Regions from separate parts of the Homo sapiens genome. Here region 1 is linked to region 2. Evidence: promoter capture Hi-C in human tissues and cell types (Jung and others, 2019). All regions are on one chromosome and are shown on one strand. Each heading gives the region's core, a stretch centred on a gene start or on the middle of the fragment in contact. The rest is flanking DNA. Distances are from core to core; before and after follow the strand shown.

Region 1 (2,700 bases), core at 93-2,592, 340 kb before region 2:
CCTCTTCTCTGCCCAGGGCAGGCTTCTCCTATTATTTCCTCTCATATAGCTTCAATTTCTCCCTTCTTTTCCCTTGACCCATAAACAAGCTCAAATCTTCCTCGAACTATAGAAGCCTCTACCATGTTTCCCTCAAAGCTAATCCCTTCCTCCTTTCTCTATTGTCAAGCTCTTAGTATTTTTCATTACAAAAGTAATATATATTTATAGTAGAAAAATGGAAAGTACAAATAACTAAACATGTTTCAAACACTTGTAATCACACTTCTGGAGGTAACTACTGAGGTTCACATTCTGGTTTATATCCTTCAAATCTTATTTCTGTGCATATATAATATTCATTTATTTCAACATTGAGAGCATTCTGGATGTTATATTTTGTAATCTGACACTTCTACTCTACCAGTAAGTATTCTACCACATTATTTTTTAATCATGGCATTAAACTTTTCATTATATGGATGCATTATAATTTATTTAGCCATTTTAAACCATAACCACAAGGTTATTCTCAATTATTTGCTATAATTAGTAACAGTACAACCTTTGTGATACATCTTTGCACATATTTCTGATTATTTCTTTAATATAAATTTCTGAAGGGGAATTACTGAGTGCATCTTATAAGTATTTGGATACATAGCTTTTGCAAAACATAAATATTTTGAAAGAGTAGCCTACTGTCGTCACTTCAACTTTAAATCCCATTCACTAAATTCCAAGCAAACGTAACCCTTTCACTGTCACTGAAATCGTTCTGTCAGAGGTCAAGGTCAATATTAATTACTAATCACAAGTCTTCTCAGGAATTAGCCTCCCTAATCTCTTTGCAGCAACTGCCACTTCCTATCTTTCCCTTTTAAATGTTTTTCCTTCTGTTTTACTTGGTCCTTCCACCTCTGTGGTAACACCTTTTCAGGCTTTTTTCTGGTTCCCTGTTTTTTTGCCTGACGTTTTCCTCATGCTTTACCCTACCCAGATCTCCAACTGTCGAGTTTATGTCAATGCCACTTAAATCTTGGCATAAATGTCAGCACGGCCTGATTTTGAGGTCTGCCCACCTCTCCAGCCTCGTGTGTCACCACTCTCTCCTGACTGCTTCCTCTTCTCCTTGGCTCTTGCATGTACTTTATGGTCCAGTCATTCTCAGCTACTCCCATTTTCTTGAGATTTTTATGCTTTTGCTGATGTGCTCTGTGCTTAGAAATCCCTTCTTCCATCTACACTTGATAAAGCTTTACTTATCCTTCAAGATTTCACTCCCTTCTCCTATGGGAGGCTGTGTGTAAAAAATAATGTTAAAAAAAGTTTAAAAGATTTACCTCTTTTGGGAAGTTCCATGACAACCCCCCACTTTCACTCTTTTATGACCCTTCACCCCGTTGGAGTGGCTGAGCAGGAGGAGCTCCTGTGTGTTCTCAGGTTCATGCTTTTCTCCTTGTGCTGTATTATAACTGTTTCCTCATCACTGTTCTCCTGTGAACTCCTGGAAGGCAGGAATTGTGTCTTTGAACATTATGTCTCCAGAATGTAGCATGGTGCTTGGTGTCTAGTAGAGACCTGTAGTAAACATCTTCCATCCTTTGGTCAAATTATATCCTGATCTTCCTCTGGGGACCTGTCCACTGTCTTCCGTTGAGCCATAGGTTTGGATGGGACTGACCTCATCCTACCTCCAAGAATAGGTTCCTCCAATTACAGCAAGTGAGAAGAAAACATACTAAAGCTTTTTTTAATGAAACAAAAATACGTTTCTAAACAGGTTCTTGCTGTGTTGCCCAGGCTGGAGTGCAGTGCCCATTAGTGCCCATTCGTAGGTGAAATCCCACTACTGATTAGCATGGGAGTTTTGACCTGTTCCGTTTTAACCTGCGCTGTTTCTCCTTAGGCAACTGGAGAATAAACATTTTTTGGAAAGAAAAGCTTCCTTTCTGTTCTGTGGCAGCAATTAGAAGAGATGTGCTTTTGGCTGGGCACGGTGGCTCATGCCTGTAATCCCAGCACTTTGGGAGGCTTGAGGCAGGCAGATCACCTGAGGTCAGGAGTTCGAGACCAGCCTGACCAACGTGGAGAAACCCCATCTCTACTAAAAATACAAAATTAGCCGGGTGTGGTGGCGCATGCCTGTAATCCCAGCTACTCAGGAGGCTGAGGCAGGAGAATTGCTTGAACCCGGGAGGCAGAGGTTGCAGTGAGCCAAGATTGCACCATTGCACTCCAGCCTGGGCAACAAGAGCGAAACTCCATCTCAAAAAACAAAGCAAACAAACAAACAAAAAAAAACAAAAAGGAAACCACAGCCTGTGATCTCTGAGCAAGCTTTTACATCAGAAAACCAGATTTTAAAAATTTAATTTAATTTTAATTTTTTTTTGAGACAGCTTCTCACTGTGTCACCTGGGCTTGAGTACAGTGGGGCCATCATGTCTCACTGCAGCCTCAATCTCCTGGGCTCAAGCAATTCTCCTGCCTCAGTCTCCCGAGTAGCTGGGACTACAAACATGTGCCTCCATGCACAGCTAATTTTTTTATTTTAATTTTGTGGAGACAGGGTCTCACTATGTTGTCCAGGCCGATCTTGAACTACTGGACTCAAGCAATCCTCCTGCCTCAGCCTCCCGAAGTGTTGGGATTATAGGCGTCAGCCATGGCATCCAGCCAGGAAGCCAGATCTTTTTTTTTTGAGACGGAGTCTCGCTC
Region 2 (2,700 bases), core at 160-2,659:
AAAAATACAAAAATTAGCCGGGCGTGGTGGCGCGTGCCTGTAATCCCAGCTACTCGGGAGGTTGAGGCAGGAGAATGGCTTGAACCCGGGAGGTGGAGGTTGCAGTGAGCCGAGATCGCGCCACGGCGCTCCAGCCTGGGCGACAGAGCGAGACTCCGTCTCCAAAAAAAAAAAAGTAGAATGCTGCACAACTTTTAATTATTAGTAATTATGTTTACCTCAGTGGTTCTCATAGTCACCCTAGCCAGCAGCATTAGCATCACTTGGGGCCTTGTTAGAAATGGAAAATTTCAGTGATGCCCACCCAAGTTTAAGAATCAATGTCTTGCTGGAAATGTAAATTAGCTAGGTCATATTTCTAAGCTTCAATTTCTTTGTAAGCTGAAATTACTTTAGCTGGATTCCCAATAACCCGAGAAGGATATCCATGAGGCTTACAAAGGTTAAATGTCAGGAAGACCCTCCATTTGCTTTGGTCCTCACAGGAGCTGAGAGTTGCTGGGAGCTACAGAGAGCTCTAGGTGGAGAGAGGAATCCAGGTCGCAATCAGGAAGCATTTCTGGTAAATTGTTTAAAGAGACCTCAGAAGAGACCTCCAAGACTATAGTATTGTTCTTTCCTCATTTCAAATAATCGTTTTCCTAATTTTATTATTTTTCTTAAAATAGTATAAGCTTATTTTAAAAATTGTGTAAGTTTCAGGACCTGGATCCACCCGACCTTAGTGATTGGAAACAACTAAGCGTGCCTGTGTTGAGATATTTCTAGCAAACTAGTGCTGCACACGACTAAGCTTTTTTTGTTTTCCTTTTGAATCTGGTACATGGTGTCGAGGTGCTCGGGATTGTTTATTCAGGGCGAGCGAAGCCACTTTTCGGAATAGTGGGGAGACTGGCTAACGACCCGCAGTCGCCTGAGGCGAGGAGAACCAAGTGCTGAGGGAGGGGGAGGCAGAGCCGAAAGAAGCCTCAGCTTCGGGGCGGAGGTGGGCGATTTAGGAACTGAAGCAGCCAGAGTTCCCGCCTCCTCCTACCTGAGCAAATCCTGGCTGAGCTGCTCCGACACCGTCGCCTTCAGCCGGCGCCGCTCACACGGCCCCTTCCTTTGCAACCCCTTACTGCAAACTCCAGCGGACCCCAGAAGTACCATGGGGGCCGCACTGCCTTCCCCACAGCGAGCCATGTCTCACAGAGGTACGACGCCCTGGAGGCCCAGTACTTGGCCTCACTTGCCCCGCCCAGGAGGAAGAAGGGGGCGTTTCCGACCGAACGCTCGGCTCCTACCCAAATCCGCCCCCTAGGGTAAAAGGTTGACGCCTCTCGTCGGTTTGTAGACAGTCTCCCAGAGAAGCCGGACCGCGGTGGGGAGCCTCAGAATCCCAGAACCGAGCCGGCTCTTGACCCAGGAAGAGCGTGCGCAGGCGTACTCGCTCTGTTTACTTCTGCCGGCGGGCACCCCGCCTCCCATGGCTCAGGCGCGGACCATCCCGCGGGGCAAACCAATCCTCAGGCTCCTTATCCCCTCCCCTCTTCTTTCCCTTCCGGTTGGTGTTCATTCATTTCAATGTTTTACTGAGGCTCGAGTTCAAATCAGCACATGCAGCCTTTCTATGCTGTGTCTTCCTGACAGGTCTACACTTTTTTCCAACGAAAGACTGGGCGAGTCACACCCCCTCACTTACCTGGCTTCTTAACCCTGAGGTATAAATGTTTGGGGCAAGAAAAATTGGCGATGGGAGGAGTAGGGGAAGAACTTCATAAACTGCCAGTCAGAACAATTCTGAGTTCAATATAAGAGATACTTACAGCATCTAGAAGGCCCCATCCCCTTCTTATCCAAGGAGTGGCTCATACAAGCTTTTGGACTTGATCGGAGAAAGCACAGGGCTTTGCATATAAAGCCCTAACATTTATGACCAAGAAGGGAGAAATAGGTAAGGGGCAAAGTCTTTGAGCAGTGAAGTGATGGATGGATGAAATATAGAATTCTCTTTTGTCCCAAATAAAGTAGCAAACTGATTATCATTTAAGGTTTTGGTATTTTTTATTTGATTACTGCCTCCAAAATAAGGAAACTCAGTAGTTCCGCTTCGGGCCGGGCAAGTCCCATCTACTTGGGAAGCGAGGCGGAATGATGGCTTGAGCCCGGGAGGTCGAGGCTGCAGTGAGCCATGATTGCACCACTGCACTCCAGCCTGAACAGCACAGCAAGACCCTGTCTCAAAAAAAAAAAAAAAAAAAAAAATCTGTTTCATTCACAAACTCTACACACAAGGTGAAGAATAGTAATTGCTTGGAAAATACATTGGCCAGGTTGCGGTGGCTCACACCTGTAATCCCAGCACTTTGGGAAGCCAAGGCGGGAGGATCACTTGAGCCCAGGAATTAGAGACCAGCCTGGGCAACATAAGGAGACCCTGTCTCTACCAAACAAAAAAAAAAAAAAAGGAGGCGGGGAGGGGAATATATGGACTTTGTATTTGTACCATAAGATTGGCCAAGAGGTAACCATTTCTTCAGATAATGCCCCCTCTCAAATATTCAGACATCTTAATTCTGAAAAATATAACTGGATAATTGATTTTTTAAAATTAATTCCCAAATGCTTGGATGGATAATTGATTCTTAATTATTCCTGTAGAAACGAGGGGTGTCAAAGATAACATAATAGTAGCTTATATTTGAATCCTTATTATGTGAT

Evidence for each region. The method cuts DNA at HindIII sites, captures the fragments that hold promoters and counts their contacts. A contact is called where the count stands out against the background at its distance.
Region 1: a fragment that was not itself captured here is called in contact with the fragment with the promoter of BTBD8 in region 2 in 1 of the 25 tissues and cell types used here (mesenchymal stem cells).

What each region holds. Positions count from the first base shown.
Region 1 is chr1:92,422,965-92,425,664 of GRCh38, reverse strand. No RefSeq gene overlaps it. Among named protein-coding and RNA genes, the nearest start is that of GFI1, 63 kb to the left of the region's middle. The HindIII fragment of the contact is 5,594 bases long and covers 1-2,700 here.
Region 2 is chr1:92,079,054-92,081,753 of GRCh38, reverse strand. It overlaps BTBD8 (BTB domain containing 8), which reads right to left and starts at 1,409. Exons shown (of 18, transcript NM_001376131.1): 1 at 1,034-1,409. The coding sequence starts at 1,182. RefSeq lists an enhancer at 1-136. The HindIII fragment of the contact is 3,183 bases long and covers 520-2,700 here.